Regions from separate parts of the Homo sapiens genome. Here regions 1, 2 and 4 are each linked to region 3. The links are contacts of gene promoters, found by promoter capture Hi-C in blood cells and fetal thymus (Javierre and others, 2016). All regions are on one chromosome and are shown on one strand. The core of a region is centred on a gene start or on the middle of the fragment in contact, and the rest is flanking DNA. Distances in the headings are between cores, read along the strand shown. Region 1 overlaps CT75 (cancer/testis associated transcript 75). Region 2 overlaps PAX3 (paired box 3). Region 3 holds the start of FARSB (phenylalanyl-tRNA synthetase subunit beta). Region 4 has its middle 30 kb from the start of ACSL3-AS1.

Evidence for each region. Contacts are between HindIII fragments. The CHiCAGO score rates a contact against its expected background, and 5 or more counts as called.
Region 1: a fragment that was not itself captured here is called in contact with the fragment with the promoter of FARSB in region 3 in 1 of 17 cell types (activated CD4 T cells); the score reaches 5.1 in activated CD4 T cells.
Region 2: a fragment that was not itself captured here is called in contact with the fragment with the promoter of FARSB in region 3 in 2 of 17 cell types (megakaryocytes and monocytes); the score reaches 5.7 in megakaryocytes.
Region 4: a contact is called between a fragment that was not itself captured here and the fragment with the promoter of FARSB in region 3, in 2 of 17 cell types (fetal thymus and monocytes). The highest score is 6.2, in fetal thymus.

Annotation. Positions count from the first base shown.
Region 1 is chr2:222,329,415-222,334,338 of GRCh38, forward strand. All of the region lies in intron 1 of CT75 (cancer/testis associated transcript 75), which reads left to right. Among named protein-coding and RNA genes, the nearest start is that of RNF228, 12 kb to the left of the region's middle. The HindIII fragment of the contact is 916 bases long and covers 2,146-3,061 here.
Region 2 is chr2:222,287,540-222,292,378 of GRCh38, forward strand. The region is part of intron 4 of PAX3 (paired box 3); the gene reads right to left. Among named protein-coding and RNA genes, the nearest start is that of CCDC140, 8.2 kb to the right of the region's middle. RefSeq lists enhancers at 2,319-3,232, 3,233-4,146. The HindIII fragment of the contact is 703 bases long and covers 2,787-3,489 here.
Region 3 is chr2:222,654,435-222,659,411 of GRCh38, forward strand. It overlaps FARSB (phenylalanyl-tRNA synthetase subunit beta), which reads right to left and starts at 1,658. Exons shown (of 17, transcript NM_005687.5): 1 at 1,582-1,658. The coding sequence starts at 1,639. It overlaps LOC124907985 (a long non-coding RNA gene), which reads left to right and starts at 1,999. Exons shown (of 2, transcript XR_007088095.1): 1 at 1,999-2,077. RefSeq lists an enhancer at 1,719-1,768 and a silencer at 1,885-2,081. The HindIII fragment of the contact is 12,443 bases long and covers 1-4,977 here.
Region 4 is chr2:222,947,194-222,951,997 of GRCh38, forward strand. No RefSeq gene overlaps it. Among named protein-coding and RNA genes, the nearest start is that of ACSL3-AS1, 30 kb to the left of the region's middle. The HindIII fragment of the contact is 1,135 bases long and covers 1,030-2,164 here.

The DNA.
Region 1 (4,924 bases), core at 1,354-3,853, 320 kb before region 3:
TGAGTTGTATAATTTTAGGTCTTACTTTTAGGTCTTTAATTCATTTTGATTTAATTTTTGTATATGGTATAAAATAAAAGTCAGCTTCATCCTTTTGCACATGTATATCCAGTTTTCTCAGTACCATTTCTCCACTTCTCTGTCCTTTCCCCCTTGAGTGACCTTGGCACCCCTGTCAAAGATCATTTGATTATACACATGGGTTTATTTCCGGGCTCTCTATTTTTTTTTTTTTTTTTTTTTTTTTGATACAAAGTCTCACTCTGTCACCCAGGCTGCAGTGTGCTGGCGCAATCTTGGCTCACTGTAACCTCCACCTCCTGGGTTCAAGCAATTCTCCTGCTTCAGCCTCCTGAGTAGCTAGGATTACAGGTGTGTGCCACCACACCTGGCTAATTTTTGTATTTTTAGTAGAGATGGGGTTTCACCATGTTGGCCATGCTGCTCTGGAACTCCTGACCTCAGGTGATCCGCCCTTCTCAGCCTCCCAAAGTGCTGAGATTACAGGCGTGAGCCACTATGCCCAGCTGGGGCTCTCTATTTTATTTCGTTGGTCTATTTGTCTGTGCTTGTGACAGTGCCACATTGTTTTGATTTCTGTAGCTCTGTAATATGTTTTGAAATCAGGAAGTGTGAATGCTCCAACTTTGTTCTTCTTTTCCAAATTTGTTTTGGCTATTCAGGGCCCCTTGAGATTCCACATGAATCTTAGAATGAATTTTTCTACATTTGCAAAAAAAGTATTGGAATTCTGATAGGGGTTGCATTGATAGTCACTGTTCTTTGATAAATCCAGTGAAGAATCTTAAAAACATAGTGAAAACTACTGAGACCACAGGAAAAATTTCAATAGCTAGAAGCTTGTATAATTTTTCTCAATCTCTTTGTAAAACAAAACTATTACAGCAGAAAATTATGCAAGCAAACATGTTTGTCTTAGTGCATCTTCTTTTCAGATCTATACATACAGTTTAAATGACACCTATTAGAAAAGAATGAGAGAAACAATTGATTCCTTTGAACATGGTAGTCTTAATAATAATAATAATAGTTATTATCAAAGTACCATATAATTTTTTGGTTTTTATGTTAAAGCATTTAAATTCCATTGTCTCATTTCATTATAGTCTGAAGCAGAATTTCCTGAAATTATGGTCTCTAAAATATTAGTTCCTCAAAAAAAAGTTTTTGTCATCAAATAATTTGGGAAGTATTCCAAACTACATTCTATATTTTCTACTCATTAAAGGCTCTGAGAAGTACTGTTACAAAGATGTAAAGAAATCAGTTCGATGTGGTATAAACAAGTGTTTATCAAATTTTTACAGCCTCAAAATTTTTCTTTTTGTAAACCTGTATCTAAGGTATGACTAAAAGCCTTAAGAGAAGAGAATTTTAAAGAAACAGATTCAGATGCTGCATTATAAATATTGAGTGGTGCAGGAGAGAAAGTGCATAAGACAAAGGGGCACATCTACCAACATAGGAATCGACTTCTCCCTTTATACCTATAAAGGGCTAAAGCTGGGAGTGAGATTCGACATGTATGGAGAACCGGATGTGTTAACAATAAAGAAACAGGCTAATTTCTTCCATATGCCATTCGCATCATCTATTTGAAGCCATGTACCATCCTACGTGCAGCAGTACCTTTGCTGAAAAGAAACAAACAGATTCTAAGGGTATATTGAGCCAAGATAGACTGCCTCTGTTAGATGGTATCTGCTTAATTGACTCTTCACATGATGATGTTTTTGTAATATTTCCCATAGATGGAAATAAGAGACAAATCACCTTTCATCTAGCATGGTTAATCATAATTGGTTGTTTATGTATTTTTGTCTCTGACCATGATACATCCTCCCTCTTAATTTCTTTTGTATTTTAAAAAATGTCTTCTTCCAAAACATTATAAGAATTCAAAAACCTTTAAACAATGTATTATTTATCTTTCTGGCCACACAGATTCCTTCAGAGTCATTACAATCCATCAACTGTGCATTTGCTGACTTAATAATAAGCAGATTTGGTTTTCAGGAGACTGAGGCAGTTGTAAAGCGCAGATCCATTAGGTTCTTTCCCATCCACTATTAGAGTATGTGGGTGAGGTACTCACTTCAAGCAGGGGCAAGCCCATGGACCTGAAGCTTATACCATTTTGGAGGTCCTTTTTAAGAAAAATAATTAAAACTGCTTGGTAAGAAGTTAAGTATTCATTTAGAATTATAAAATAAACCACTGCCACAACAAAACATTTAAAGTTGATAAATTCAGGAACGATCTCAAAATCCAGAAAAAAATTTTTTTCAACTAATTAGCTATCTGACATACCCCTCAATAAAATTATTTGTCTGCATACTATTTGATTGTCTATTCATGCCACAAGAATTTTGTCATACTTTCTGGGAGAGACTAGAAGAAGAAATCAGTATTTCTTCTAGCATGGTGGATCAAACAACATATTTTTAAAAAATTAATAGTATGGAAAGGTTCCTTTTGGCTTCACAATTTGTTGGTATTGGCGCGTACATTTTTAGGATTATTATTAATTTTGGAAACACTTCTCTCAAGTGAATTTCATATATGGGCTGTAAAATTTCAAGGCATTTTAGGGATTTGTTTGTTGCAGGGAGTAATTTTAAGTACTCTGAATTGACGACACTCACTGACCAGCTTATCTTTGGTGTCCCTAATAATGTGGCATATTATGAGGGTTATATGGGGCCCTTCACCTTCCTTTTATAAAGTTAGATGCACAGATATAGGGAGTGGTAAGATTAGGACTGAAAATTGTTTTCTGCACTGGGACAGCTAACCTCTACACGGAAGAATCTGTGAACTGCATAAATATTTCACTAAACCAAAACCAAAGATCAACTTCCTTAAACACGGTCCAAAAATGCCCGTGGCTTCTTCGATGCTACCTAACCCTAACAAGGGGAAGTTGAAGTGGAAAGAAACAATGGTCTTAAAGATTTGCAGTTAAAATATATTCCTGTGAATTTTATGAGAACATATGGACATGGGAACACTTCAAGTTCAAATAAGGGGTCTTGAAACAAGCTTCATTGGTTTCATGGTAAACCCACTTCTGGTTTAAACTCAAATTTTCTTCACCAGAGTTGCTATTGTTACTTTTAAAAGAATGCACATTTGTCTATTGAACTAAAGGGACAGAGTATATAGAAACTATTCAAATACATGAAAGACAGATACATGACTGTATCCCAGCTGGCCAGATTATTAATCTAATCAACCAAGGAGGGGCCTCAAAATGGCTGACCAGAGGCATCCGGAGCTGCCTTCTCCACAAAGAACCAAGATAGTGACTGCATAATCACACTTCAAATAGATCACCGAGAGAGAGAGAGAGAGAGAGAGAGAGAGAGAGAGAGAGAGAGAGACAGAGAGAGAGAGACAGAGAGAGAGAGAGAGAGAGAGAGAGAGAATGCTGGAATTTAAGAGAGAAGTGACAGGAAACATGTAAGACAAGGAAGGAGGGGGAAGGGAGGCAGCCTGCTCAGCAGGCATCTGCTGGGAGCCTAGAGAAGTTCTCCAATGTGGGAAAAGGGTGAATGAGAAACCCCCGGCAGGTCCACCTTCTTACCATGGACTCCTGAAATCCTAGCCCGGACCCTGAGCCATTCAACTCAAGCAGCCCCTGAGACTAACATAGGGAGCTGCCTGGAGACTTCCCACAGTATTCATTCTGAGAGGAAGCTCACACAGGGTCCTAGACAGCTCCTAAATCCTAAGCAGCTACAGGAAGGCACCATTTTGAGAACACAGCCCCTATCATACTGTATTCTGCTGGAGGGCCCAATAGCCCCTGTATCTTCACATCCCTGGAGCCCCATTGACATTCTCCACCTTTATTCACCACCGCAGCTGGCTCTGCTGCCAAGGCCAAAATGCAAGCCATTGTCAGTAACCCAGCTGCCTCCAGTAGCAGGGCCACTGTGCATTTAAAGGCATCCCAAAAAAAGGCTATCTCACTTATAGCAGCCACCTGAGGCCAAAATGTGTGCTCCCCAGCCACCTTACTGTTGCCACTGAAAGCAACCCTGCCCTCCCTAGCAGCAGGGTCCTGGCACAGCTGCTGCTGCTCCCACCCAGGCATTCTGCCAATGGCCTGGGATCACTACATTCCGGCCTACCACAGCCAGCACCTACATGTACCACCAAGAGGGCCTGAAGATAGGCCCACCTGACCCGGCTCCATCCCCCTTCCCCTAGTGCCTGAGCATGATGTCTGGGTGCTTTGGGATTGCCCAACTTCATCTACCATTATTGGCACCTAAGCACCCCTCCCAGGGGCCTGAGGACAGCCCCACCAACCTGCCACTACCACCACAGCTGCCACCCACTTGTATGCCCCAGCTGCAGGCCTAGGGACAAGCCCACCCTGCCCAACACAGTCAGCACCAAGCACCAACACCAGGATAGCCAGATATTGTCCTGCCACTGCTACTGCCATCACCCAGGCCATACTTGATGCCCAGGGGTCCAAGGACCCTCCCACCCACTTGGCTCACTGCTGTGACTGCCAACACCCAAGGAATCCTCCTGGTGGCCCAATAATCAGCTGACCTGAACCCACTAACACCAGTGCCAGTGTATACTACCATGGGGCCCAAGGACAGGGATGCTTGGACTGCTGCTGTCACCACTGGAACCCAAGGATTGGCTTGCTTGACATGCCTGTTCACAGCAAAACTTTACCACAGCCCCTACTAATAACAGCCCCCTAAGCCACTAAAGAAATCATAGGCACTACTGACACTGTTTGTATCCAAAGAAATCATATGGAGACCACACTACTGCACACACCTACAATCAAGGCCAAAGTGTCCTACCCAACCAATAGCATAGATGTGTCTTCAGAAAAAATTTCTCCCCAATGAAAGCAAATTTTAAAAATTGG
Region 2 (4,839 bases), core at 1,888-4,387, 370 kb before region 3:
AGGAAGAAAAGTTACTTGAACTCTGTATGTATACAAAATATACATTTGAAATATATGACAAAGAACTATCTAATGCTATATCTAGACCCAGGACATGGGAACCATAACAAATCTGAGCTAACTGTAACTTCTAGCTTAATCTATTTCAGGCAGTTGTTCTACACTGCAATGTTTGGTAGTAAATATTTTACATCAGAGAGCATTTGAGCACAGATGGATTATTAATTAATAGGAGGATTATAATAGAAAATATTAGATAATACCCACCAAAATTCTGCTCTGTATGTCAAGATTCATCTTGCTCAAGAGTGAACAAGAGTAAAAAATAAAACAATAAAGCCTCATGCACAACTTTTTAGTACTGAAATGAGCACAAAGAAAGAGATTCGAAAACCCCACACACAGGCAGATCCATGATGCACAGTTACATATCCAAAGCCTAAATCTGGCATGAATTTTACAACCTCAGTTAGTGCTATTTGTTGGAATTTGCAAATTAAGCACAGAGATAGTATTTCCAAAAGATTCGTTTGCAGGATTTTTGCTTTCATAATAAAAGAAAAACCTATGCAAATATATTGTGTTCTTAAACAAACAAACAAAAGTCGGATAGTTCATCTCAAAATCAACAGTTTAAAAGAGTCATAAAATGATTCAAGGAAATATTTCTCCTGGCATTCAACAACTGGGAGGCTGTGCTGTTACCTCAGTTTCTGATGACTTTAGAAAGTGCAATCCATAGGACAAACATATCTTCATTTTGTGCAACTAAATATAGTTTAGTGCCAGCATAATTCTTAGTGTAATAAATAAACTCTAACAATGCACATACATACACATAAACACATATCTATTCCTAAATTATAGAGGATTGGAAATATACATGAGAGTCATCTAACCATCTATAAACACAGAAATTATGGAAACACGTGTAGAGAGATGTAGTCAATATAACACTCAGATTCCTGTGTATTTAATTATTCCCTACCTACTTTTACATAAAAATCTGCTATGTTTTCATTAAATAATTCCAGCTTGGAAGACAATTTTAGGGAAACTTTTGTATTTAGAAACTTAGCAACAGGCAGATAGTAGCTGCCATGCTTTCTGCCACACCCCCCCAAAATGAGAATCTATTTGATGATAAATTCACCATCATAGCCTCAGTTCTAAGTAAGAAATCACGATAGGATAATTAAAAACACCCCATGAGTCTTCTCTACAAACCTACAACATGTAACTGGTTTCAGTTCCTATTTCTTAAAGAGAATTTGGTCAATTCCTCCTTAGAGATTTCAGAGGAAAAGAAGGATTTTCCAGGACAGATAAATTGAAATGATCCCGCTTTGATCTCTATGGTTAAGAACCCCTCACAATGGAAGATGACCACTGAGGGGCCGCGCTCCCGGCCTTTTAATGTGTAACAATGGTATCAACAAACAGCTACTTAATCAATATTTGGCCAGAGCTGCTGAAAACTTCCTTTTCAGATTTTAATTCCTACTTGTAAAACAACCCCAGAGCAGCCAGTGAGATAAGACATTAAACTGACTGCTTAATTGCCTTTTAGTGTCTTGTTAGTTATATATGTACATTCTAAATGGTTCTTTAATCTTTATTTACCCTCATAGATAAGTTACCTGTCATACAGAATCCAATCGAACGTAAAACATTTTCTGTTCCAGCCCAAGCCAAACTCTCATTTCTCACCGTTTGTTTGTTGTTACTGTTGCAGCTTTTCATTTTCATTGGCCATCTACTTATGTACAACTTAAACATTTAGTCTCATAGGAAGAATTTTTTGTTGTTGTTCTCAAAATATATGCATTCATGGATGCTGAAGCCATTCGGATTTAGCGGCCACACTCCTATTCACGTGATCGATTTCTGCATATTCCACTCGCCTGAACCGCCGCGCGCTGACTGGTTCCGCCTCACCGCCCGGGTGGGTTTTATTGCTCAGCCCTGGGGACTTTTAAATGACCCTTCAGTAATTATTACTCAGTAGAAGCCCCTACGTCCTGGTTCCGGTGCTATCAACAATCAAATCAAACCCCAAAATAAACATACGATTTCAAGCATTAATTAGAAAATCTGCATGTTTTCAATAAAGCTCTAGAAGGTAAGCACACAGCAGTCAACCAAACCAAACAAGCGAAAAAGAAAAAGCTAGGAGCTGAACTCTGGTGTTTCCTTTCAAATCGTTCCAGCAGGAAAATTGTTACCGCGACATTAATAAATAGAACACGGCGTGGTGTTCTAATAGAATTCAAGTTCTGATACTTCCAATATTTTTTAAATGGATGATATTTCTTTGCTGAGTTTTGCAAGGACTTCAGAAAATATGAAGTTTTCTCTATAGAATCGAAACGACATTGAAGTCAAATTCGTGATCCTAACAAATGGACTTGGAAAGTGGGCTGGTCTGTCCACTTGAATAAAGGATCCGATGCCATAAACCTATGATCTTATACCCAATGATTTTAATCTATGGGAAAGTTCGTCCCCCGCCTTCCCCTCCTCCCAACCTTGGACCAAAATGGCCCTTCCTGCTCACTAACCGGGAAAGAAACGGCCCTTCGTTTTCCTTGATTTCAGCAGTCCCTTAATGATAAGAGTGCTCTTTTCATGATTTCACTGGAAATAAAATACTCCAAATACCTTTAATGCTTTTCTGCGTTTTAAACTGATTAATCTTCTCCTACCTCCCCCCCAAAAAGCTGAAGTCGTCCTCGTTAACTTTACAAAAGCTGACAAGCTTACAAATAAAATGGAAACTTGAGCAAAGCTTTCGTCACTTTTACTTTCTCCAATTTTTTAAGAAAGCACTCTTTTTTGTAAACGTCAAATAAGAGGGAACAGATAGGAAAGGAATATAAGCCCCCAACAGACCTATGCTTGAGATCTCTTAGTGGGATCTTTTAAATTGTTGCAAACCTCCCACGCTCACTTGTGATTTTAAAAGGGAGGAAAGTCTTATGAGAGTGTATCGCCAGTCCCCAATCAAAACATCAATTTGGCAATCTGGCCTCTCTCCCCCTGCGCTCCGGAGCTGCCACTTCAAAGCTGCTACAACAAGTCAGTAATTGTAACTTTGCATCTAAATATTTAAGCGAGAGTCTTGCAGTCGCGTGTCCATTTACAGTCCTCAACTGTCCTCTAATTCCATTACTGCACAAAGCAAAAATGTTTCCCAAAACTCACAAACAGGAAAAGCGTCACCCTGCTGGAGGGGGAGAAGGAGGGGTGGAGGAGGAGGAGGAGATGATGAAGGGGCAGTTTCTATTGATTAGTCACCGCTTTTGTGTTAAGGGCTTTCTTTAAAATAAGAAAAAAATGGGGGGAGGTTGCAGAAATTTCACTAATGTGAGCCTCAGGCAAGGGAGGAAAAAAAAAAAGAGGAGAAGAAGGGGGGAGGCGGGCTGTGTCTAGATGAAAGTGAGAAGGACATAAAGGAGGCAATTGAGTCGGCTGCAGCCCGGCGAGCTAAGCTTCGAGCCGGCCAGAGAGTAGGGGAGGGGGCGGAGCGGCGCGGCGCTTTGGCGCAGAGCACAGGAGTGGGGGCCCAGCCCATTGTGGCGGCGCCCGCGGGCCCGCTAGGCCGAGCCGGGGGAGGAACAGAGGCGCCCATTGAGCGGCCGCTGCGCAGGGCGGTGCCCACAGCCCCGGATGCCTCGGCCAGGACTTGGCTCCCCCGGCTGCCTCTGCTCCAGTCTCAGCGCGGGCCAGGGGCTAGGGGGATTGGGGATAGCGGGCGGGGTTCGTGTTAGTGAACCGCCCAGCCCTCTCCTTTCTCCTGGGCTATGGAGCTGGAGGGATGTATCCAGCAAGGGTGCATCATGCTTAGCGCGCGCCCGTTAGGGAGCGCGGGCCTGAGCGCACCAGCACCGCTAGCGGCTCAGCTCTTGAATTGAGCGAGGGAAAAGGGAAAGTTGGGAAAGTTAAGAGGACCATCTGGGAGAAAGCCACTGGAGAGAAGAATGAGGTGATTCTGACCTCATTCAAAGTGGCTCAACCCTTTTGTCCTAGTGTCTGCCAAGCAGACCTCAGGCCAAAGATTCCCCTGAAAAGCCAGGCTCAGCAGCACCCACCAGACCCACTAACTGGAAAAGGGCAAGAATACACCACACTGGTCAGGGGACCCCAAAGTTCCTCCTCCCTCAGCTTTCTTCTCCCCCTCTGCCAGGGCGCTAAGAACGCTTTATCAACATTCATTCTATTTTACAAGCGGGCAGCCTGGGATTTTTGATGCCCGAACAACAGAAAGGAGTTTTTGAAGTTTCTAGACTTCAAACTGCACCTCACTCTGTCCTTTCTCTGGGCCCCTCTTGTCCTCCGAGGCTCATCTAAAAAGGAGCTAGAGATGCTGAAGAGACAGACACTGCATCTTCCTTGACAACCCCAAATTAAATCAGGCTTCAGCCTCCAAGGTGTGTGTGTGTGTGTGTGTGTGTGTGTGTGTGTGTGTGTGTGTGTGTGTGTTTCCAACAGCACAGCCCCCACTGGGGAGAATACTCTGATTTTAAAAATGTAGCAATTGCCCTTGAATAGCAGCCGGCCCAGCTAGACAGCCCAAAAGACTAGAAACATTTTGTAGGTGAAATGGCCACTTTTTCCACGCTGAAGAGTCCATAAAACTTCCCGGCGCAGCAGCTATTGGGGCTCATTGAATAATTCATCCCTCATTGCAAGCCCATAATGTCTATTCTCAGCCTTTTGTGGTGCTGTTTTCTCTTCTTTTCTCCTTGAATTATAAAAAGGTTGCCTTCCTTTGTTCACATCAAGCTGCTCCGAGCTGGAGCTTTGTCTGGGCTGAGCTAAAGTGTGAGTTTCAATGGA
Region 3 (4,977 bases), core at 408-2,907:
ATATCTCATTATGTATATGCAAATATCCCAAAATCCAAAATCCAAGACGCTTCTGGTCTCAAGCATTTTGGATAAGGAATTATTAACCTGTACCACATCCCATTAGTGAGAATATGGTTTAGAAGGGCAGGTAAGAAATATAAATAAGCTCATTATAAAATAAAGCGATTAGGCGATTAGAGCCAAGTACAAAGGGTAAGAGTAATACAATACCCTTGTATTTCCTTTACTTTCAGGGACTTATGGCAGAACTTACGAAGAATATCACATAGAGAATAGGTACTATCTAAAAGTACACACTTAGGAAAGATTCTTAAAAGCCAGCTTTATTTTCACTGTAACAGTAATCTTATTCTGGGAAGCGGTGGCTGTCATTAAACCAATTAGGCCTTTGTTAACACACTGAGCCCTAAAAACAAAAAAAACAGCTCTCACGAACCAGTTGGTCCAGCCTTTATACAAGCTAAAAATTATGGGGTGGGGGCCGGGCGCGGTGGCTCACGCCTGTAATCCCAGCATTTTGGGAGGCCGCGGCAGGTGGATCACGAGGTCAGGAGTTTAAGACCAGCCTGGCCAAGATGGTGAAACCTGGTCTCTCTAAAAATACAAAAAAATTACTCGGGCGCGATGGCGGACGCCTGTAATCCCAGCTACTCGGGAGGCTGAGGCAGAAAATTGCTTGAACAGGGAGACGGAGGTTGCTGTCAGCCGAGATCGCGCCACTGCACTCCAGCCTGGGAGTGCAGACTCCGTCTCAAAAAATAAAAATAAAAAAAAAAATAGGGTGGGGCAGCTGCTACGGCTGTGAGGTAACTGATAACTGCATTTAATATCTCCCTCCTTTTTTTCAATGGTTGTGTTTTTAGAACTGATTAAAAGATGAAATGTAGAATGAAGTCTACACCCATTTAATACTCCCCATTCAGGTCTCAGATCAAATGTTACCACCCTATCTAAAGTTGTTCTTGGCACAACACCTTTTCTTTCCTTGATGGCATTTAACATTATCCGAAATCATTTTATTAACGTGCTGGTTAATTGTCTGCCTCCATCAGACAGAACGTGGACCTGACGTGTCGTGTGCACAGCTCTAGTCCTAAGCTCTTAGAACAGTGCCTGACACATAACAGGCGCTCAGGAAACATTAATAAAACGAAGACAGGTGGAATGCCGTTCTCCACCCCGCTGCACAAATCTCTCCTCCTACCCCCTTATAAACTGAGTTCCCACAGCGCTGCTATTGCAATTAACTGGCTACGCTCGGGATGCAACCCCGGGTTTCCTTCCTGTTCTATCCCCTGGCTTGGATGTCGGTGCCAGGCACGCTGTAGGCACTCGATGGCAGATCGCTGAATGAATGACACGGCAAGCCGGGCACAAGCAGTGGCACCGCTGCGATGCCGGTTCCGAGGCTACCACAGCCCAGCCGGACCGCCACCATCATCGGCCTTCCCGCGTAAACCCCGGCCTCCCGGAGCCAAAACCTTCAGGAAGGCATGAATGTCGCCACATTGCCCTTTTGGAGGGAGGCCCTGCCTCCGAGAAGAGGCGTAGGGCCCAACGTATAGGGCCGCCACTCACTGTAGGTGCGGCCCAGGGCTTGGAAGAGCAGATCACGCTTCACGCTGACAGTCGGCATGGTGTGTCGAACTCACTGCGCCTGCGCAGCGAGCTGACCCGGGCTTCCCTAGCGAAGCGCGTAGGACCCGCCTCTTCTTGTGCGTGTTGTCTTGAATATCGCCATTCTGCTGGCAACAGTTCCTGTTCTCTTTTTAACCTAAAAACACTCATCATGCCATTACCTCGCTGATTAAATGTATCTTTATGAGACTAATAGCTTAAAAGCCTGTAAGAAAGATATAATTTGATAGAACTGGCTAGGATTTGTCAGGCATTGTAATGTACTGACCCTGAAGTCCCGGATGCTTCCAGGGCGCTAACGGCCGGGGACGCCCACCAGGTGGGCGGGGCGAGAGTGGGGCGCGTCAGGGAGGGGGTGGGGCCTCCACGTGGGAGATCTTGCCTGGAGGTGGTGGAAATGCGAGTGGAGAGGGTTCAAGGCTTCCTGCAGAGAAAGGTGTGCAAATCCTGGCGGCGGGAGAGGGGCTGTTAACAGACCTCAGTTTTTACTTCATTCTTTAATCTCTCCTCTACTCGTATAAGTGATATACCTGTGCTTTGTTTGAACTTTACGGCAGCCCTATAAGGGAGGCATTGTAAGAGACCTCTTTTTTTGTCTATTTGCTCAGTGCTCTCTGCTGTCAGTGGGCTGTGCTCAGCCCTCTGCCAGCATTAAATTTCCTCCTTAAAACAACCCTGAGTGTAATAGGCTGAATAACGGCCCCCAATAATATCAGACCCTAATCCCTGCAACCTCTAAATGTAACTTTATATGGAAACAGCGTCTTTGCAGGTTAAGTTAAGGATTTTGAGATGAAGATTATCCTGGATTCGAAAGACGAACACTAAATGGAATCACAGTATCCTCATCAAATCATAAAAGGGAGGTTGAGAGAGACGATTTAGCCACGGTGGCAGAGATTGGAGTATGGCAGCCACAACCCAAGGATGCCAGCAGCCACCAGAAACAAAGAGACAAGCACACACTGGGGGTGAGGGGGTGGAGGAGCGGGGAGCATCAAGAATAGCTAATAGATGCTGGGCTTAATACTTAGGTGATGGGATGATCTGGGCAGCAAACCACCATGGCATACATTTACCTATGTAACAAACCTTCACATCCTGCACATGTATCCCTGAAATAAACAGAGACAAGGACAGATTCACGCCCAGCCCATGGGGCAGCCCTATAATGCATGCTGATTTGGGCCCAGTGAAACTGATTTTGGGTTTCTGGCCTCCAGAACTGTGAGAGCATAAATTTATGGTTTAAGTCAGCAAGTTCGTGGTAATTTGTTTCAGCAGCCAAGGGAAACTAATACATCAAGATAGGTACCATTATCCCTGTTTTACAGGTAATGAAACTAAGGCACAAACTGGCAGTTCCAGGGGGAGCCTTGCCCTAATCCTTTCTACTGTACAGTGAGTGAGGGCTTCTTCCAAAGTCCTTCACATGAGGGGAGAAAAGCTGAGCCAGATGTAAGCCACCCTAACTATTAATCAAGCAGTTTTTCACTATACAGTATTAGCTCCCCTCCATGGGAAGGCAGTCCCTTCCCAGTGACCAACATAACAGATTGGCAACACCCCATAAATGGCAAACATCCCCAATGCAAAATACAGCTTTCCACCTAAAATTGGTGCTTTCTGCTCAATTAATAAGCAAAGGACTAGTGCCAGGCATGATGGCTCACACTTGTAATACCAACACTTTGGGAGGCTGAAGTGGGCAGATCACTTGAGGTCAAGAGTTGGAAACCAGCCTGGCCAACATGATAAAACCCCATCTCTACTAAAATTACAAAAATTAGCTGGGTGTGGTGGTGGGCACTTGTAATCCCAGCTACTGGGGAGGCTGAGGACTGAGAATCACTTTAACCCAGGAGGCAGAGGTTGCAGTGAGCCAAGATCACGCCACTGCACTCCAGCCTGGGTGACAGAGCAAGACTCTGTCTTAAAAGCAATAACAACAACAACAACAAAATAGTAATAATAAATAACCAAAGGACTTCCTGCTGACCTGCTCTGCTTTGGGCACTCCAAAGTGTTCTGTGGCCTCTGAACCTCAGTTTCCTCATCCATAAAATAGGGATAATAATATACACCTTAAAGAATTATTGTGTCCCATATCTGTAATTCCAGCACTTTGGGAGGCCGAGGTGGGAGGATTACTTGAGCCCAGGATTTCAAAACCAGCGTGGGCAACAGAGTTGGACCCCATCTCTAAACAAAAAGAAAAATTAGCCAGGCATGGCGGCAACACACCTATGATCCCATCTACGCGGATCACTTGAGCCCGGGAGGTTGAGGCTGTGGTGAGCTGTGATCGCGCCACAGCACTCCAGCCTGGGTGACAAAGTGAGACCTTGTCTTAAAAACTAAAAAAGAATTATTGTAAGAATTTGAAATAATACTCATAAATAACTAGTATAGTTCTTATCATGTCAGAGGTCCTGGAAATGGGGCAACTGTCATTTTTTTTAATCCTCCTAGTTAGTTTTCTGCTAGTCTCAGACCACCAAGGGGCATTTTGTTCCCATCTCTCACATCCCCCAACTGACCTATCCTACTTTTTATCATTGCACATGTTACAGGTACTCTGTCCCTTCTCTGTGAGAAGCTAAACTGTTAGAAGATTCTAATGGAAAAGAGGAAACTAGGCCACTAGGGCTCATCACAAATGGCATTAGCTAACTGAAAGGAAAGGTACATGGAAAATGATGAGATCGTATATCACAAAATGTAGGTACATGCTTCTTTCATCTAACTTTGGGGCCAGACTGAAAGCAGGAATGAGGTGGCAGCATTTCCTAGGAAGGAAAGACGAGCTGGACAAAAGGCATGGAAAAACTCTCAGCTCAGCAGAAATTAAGGAGATGCAAATAAAAATTATAAGGACATACATGTTTATACCTAGGAGACTGCTAGAAGTCTTAAAGTCTGAAAAAAATCAGATCTTGGCAAGAATTTGGGAGTATAAATTGATATAACCTCTTTGGAAAATATGGCCTTACCTAGAAAAATGGGGCATGTCCATATCCTACTACCCAGCAATTGCACTGCTAGGAATATTCCCCCAGAGAAACTCTTACCCATGTGCACCAGAAGACTCAAATAAGAATTTTCATGGTTACATTGTTCATTATAACAGAAATCTAGGAACAACCCAATGTTTGTCAGTACTAGAATGGGTAGACAGTTATGATAAATGTATACAGTGAAACACCATACAGTTATGTAAACAAATGAACTACACCTGCATGTATCAACTTGGATAAATCTTACGTTGTAATTTTGAGGGAAAAATGTAAATCACAGAAGAATATGTATCCTTGATGCCATTAATATAAACACTAA
Region 4 (4,804 bases), core at 347-2,846, 290 kb after region 3:
CCATCCTCACTCCAGTCCTCTCTTGGTTTGAATGTTTTGGATGTCTTGAGAGCATTGGGGCAAGAACTCCGAGAATTTTTTTTCTGTTTTCTTTTTTTTTTTTTTGAGACAGTGTCTCACTCTGTGGCCGAGACTGGAGTACAGTGGTACGATCTCAGCTCACTACAACCTCCATCTCCCGGTTCAAGTGATTCTCCTGCCTCAGCCTCCTGAGTAGCTGGGATTACAGGCACCTGCCACCACACCCAGCTAATGTTATATTTTTAGTAGAGACGGGATTTCACCATGTTAGCTAGGCTGTTCTCGAACTCCGGACCTCAGGTGATCCACCCGCCTTGGCCTCCCAAAGTGCTGGGATTACAGGCGTGAGCCACCGCTCCCGGCCTTAGAATTCTTTTAAACGTTTCCACAAATGTAAGAAAAGATGGCTTTTTGGTAGCCATGGTCAAAAATAGCCACCCAAATCTGTTTTTACCCTGTTCAGCACATCAGCAGTTCACCTCATGTAGGAAAGTGAGATGCACCAGAGGCTTAAAAAAGTTCCTATGGTTTGCCCACTAATTCCACATCTAGGAATCTGACCTTAGAAAATACTCAAGAGACGCGGGTTGAGATTTCTTCAGGAAGACCTTCATTGTGAAGTTGTTTATAGCAATCCATCAATTGGAAACAAGTGCACTAAAGTAAGATATCAGGTAAATATTAGACACTATCCACTTGATCATAGAGGCACAAAAAATGTTTATACAGCTTTTTATATTGTGAGGAGGACTTCATACTATGAATTTTATGGGGGAAGAAAGTAGGAATCAAAATTTAGTAGGCACTTTATGTCATAATGTGTGTGTGTGTGTGTTGTGTATATATTTCATAGAGAAAAGTCTAGAAAGAAATGTGCAATCATTGGCCAAAAATTGTAATTGACATTTTTCTCTTCATACTTTCAAAATTCTTTACATTGGCTTTACTTACTCCTACAATAAAAAGTCAAGCTTGTGTAAAGAAGCCTAGCTTAAAATATGGACCATAAGCTTTAAAATTTTTTATCTTAGCAAAATTATCAATTGTTAAGAAAAAATATTTGAAGCTATCTTAAGTGTTCTAGTAAAGAAGAAACTAGAAACCCTTTTATTTTCTAATCCCATTCATATTTATATATTTTTTGAAAGCTCCCTTCAACTATACCCTTGTTTATCAATCTTGTTCTGTTTGTTCCAGCTTTATAACGTGATATATGGGTATCTGTGCCTGTCTTCTGTATGTGCATTTTTTTTCTGGTAATTCTGCCCATGTTCTGCATATCTTTATTTTCATGTTCTTAATCCTTTTATTTACTGCTTCATGACTCAATTTTAATTTTTCTGTAACTGAATTATGTAGGACCTTGGCCCCTAAATAGCTCTTTTCAAGAAGATTTTCTTCTTGTGTGTCCAATAGATTTGCTATGCCCTTTCTCCTCCTCCTGTTAAATGTAAAACTTTATTAGTATCAATATCTGATATAGTTTGGTTGTGTCCCCACCCAAATCTCATCTTGAATTGTATCTCCTACAATTCCCACATGTTGCGGGAGGGACCTGGTGGGAGATCATTGAATCATGGGGGCAGTTCCCCCATACTGTTATCGTGATAGTGAATAAGTCTCACGAGATCTGATGATTTATAAGGGGTTTCCCCTTTCACTTGGCTCTCATTCTCTCTTGCCTCCCACCATATAAGATGTGCCTTTTGCCTTCCACCATGATTGTGAGGCCTCCCTAGCCATGTGGAACTGAGAGTCCATGAAACTTACTTTTCTTTGTAAATTACCCAGTCTCCAGTATGTCTTTATCAGCAGCGTGAAAATGGACTAATACAATATCATATTGTATATTTTTCTGTAGATCATCCATTTTAAAAAGAGGAGATGATTTGCTAATTTTTAAAAACAGCTCCTATAAGAAAAGGGAAATTCAGAAAGATGCTTTTCTTCTATCTTTTCCCTGAAAGTTGCCCAGTTCTTCTTTGCCTTTTGGTTGTTTTATTGGCTGATTCTAGCTCTGGGTCTGGTGTCAGTGTTGACCTGTGATCCCTCATCAGGGCCAGTGCTGAGACCTGTGGATGATTGCACCAGACGTCCTTTACAGACCAGGCTTGAGTCTCCCTGCTATTGTGATTTTTTTTTAAGCTTATTTGGAATGTTAGACAAACAGGTGTAAAAATACCATATTAGTTTTTGAAAGATTTGCTTATTTAGCATAACATGAATTTATGCTCATTATAAAATTTCTAGTAATTTGGAGATATAGACTAAAAATGGAAATCCTCCCTATATACACAGGGTTTTTAGAAAACATATAATGAATTAAATTTTGTCTCTCCTCCCAAATGTATATGTTGAAGTCCTGATCTCTAGTACCTCAGAATGTCAGTAAATTTGGAGATAGGGCCTTGAATAAGGTGATTAAGTTAATATGAGGTCATTAATGTGGCCCCTAATCCAATATGACTAGAGTCCTTGCACAAGGAGATCAGGACACAGATCTCCACAGAGTGAAGAGTGTGGGATGCCAACCCAAAAAGAGAGGTCTCAAAAGATACCAGCCCTGCTGACACCTTGATCTTGTCCTTCTAGCCAACAGAATTGTGAGAAAGTGAATTTCTGTTGCTCAAACCACCTAGTCTGTGATTTTGTTATGGCAGCCCTAGCACACTAATACAGACCGCAGTTAGATCCTGGTCTAGATTCTATAACTTGCCTTTTTTATTGTGAGCATACATTGGACATCTTCCTGTGTCAGTACATATATAATGGACCTGATTCATAAATAACCTTGTTAACGGCGAGGCAATATTCCACAGAATGGGTGTATCACAATGTAAACCATTCTCTCATTGTTAGGCACTTAGGTTATTTCAGTTTTTACCATTAGAATCAGTGTGACAACACAAAGCTTTTACTCCCATTTTTGTGCTTAAGAGGAAGCTCATCTACAGGACAGCTTTCTAACAGGAATGGCTAGGTAGATCAAACCTTAGCAGTTTTGTAAACTATCCAATTGTTATTTGGTTTTGAGTGTGTGTGTGTGTGTGTGTGTATGTACATATATATCTCCTGACTTCTCAGATAAATTTAAATTCCTGAGGAATGGGTGTTTTAGTGATTCTTTGTATCCTCCAAGTCTAGTGTCATATGACTTTCTTCTAAGAGATTCTGAGTGAATGTTGGGTATACTATCATTTTCATTAATTAGCCTTTTATCATCAATTAGCTAAAATGTGGGAAAGAAGGGGAAACATGGTGTGTAGTGTGACCCAGGCAGGTCCCGTCCCTCTGAGCCTTTGTAGACACTGTGTTAGTTTTCTTTTCTCCCTTTTTTTGCTTTTTGAAATAAGGTCTTGCTTTGTCACCCAGGCTGGAATGCAGTGGTGTGATCATGGCTCAAGCAATCCTCCTGCCTCAGTGTCCCAAGTAGCTGCGACTACAGGAGCGAACTGCCACATCTGGCTTATTTATTAATTAACTAATTAATTAATTTAATTATTTGTAGAGAAAGGGACTCACTATGCTGCCCAGGCTGGTTTCAAACTCCTGGCCTCAAGTGATCTTCCCGCCTCCACCTCCTAAAGTGCTTGGATTACAGGCGTGAGCCACCGCACCCGGCCCTGTGTTAGGTTTTTTTTTGTCATGGGTCTCTTTTTTCCACCTCCTTCCTTCCTCCTTTCCCTCCCTGCTAATAAACAATAATTTCATATGCCTTCTGAGTCATTTGAGAAATTGTTTTGTTCTACCTTCCGGGAATATGCTAATAATGAGTAAAATAAAAATGGGCAGGAATTTGATGTAAAATCCGAAGGCAGATTTGTGTTTGTATATCTCATCTTCTCTCCTCTGCGGCATTTACAGGAAGCAGCAGGGCTGCGTGGGTGATGGATGTTGCTGTCTGTGACCGTCTGCCGCCCATTCCTCTTCTTTGAATCACCAGCCTATGGGCTGTTCACCATGCAGCTGATGTTCACCAGCTCTGTATCTTCCATCTCCCCAAAGTGGCACGGACACAGAGCCTTGCTTATACACAGTGATGGGAATCTGGTGCAGTAGAAAACAAAATTTTCTTATTTTTCTCCCACCCCAAACCCTGGCAATACTGTTTTCACAGGTAGAGATGGTGAAGAACGCAGACTCATAGCAAGACACCCATGATCACCAGTCACCTGTGTGTCTGTGATGTCGAGGCTGACAATTAGATATGATTACAGATATGTGAAAAAAGGACAGTTTTTTTTATTGTAGTACTGGTAACAAGAATTGCTTTTTGAATTTTTTAATTGGGATCTCCTGTTTTTCCCCCCTCCAAGTCCTTCCTGCTTTTTCTTTGCTTTTAAGGATACAGAAAGATGATCACTTTTATTGGAAAAACCTGTTGAGAAGCTATGCTTGCGAGACATTAGCAATCCTCATGCTTGTGAGTTCCGGAACATTATACAGGCTGGGCATGGTGGCTCATACCTGTCATCCCAGTACTTCGGGATGCTATGGCAGGAGGATCTCTTCAGCCTAGGAGTTCAAGACCAGCCTGGGCAGCATAGGGAGACCTCAGCTCTACAAAAAAAAAAAAAAAAAAAAAAAGCCAGATGTGATGGTGCACACCTGTGGTCCACTAGGGAGGTGGGAGGATTGCTTGAGCCCAGGAGGTTGAGGCTGCAGTGAGCTGTGATCGTGCCACTGCACTCCAGCCTAGGCAACAGAGAGAGACCCCTGTTTCCAAAAAAACAAACAAAAAAAACCAGAACAACAGGACACAACAGTTAACTCAGAATTTGCC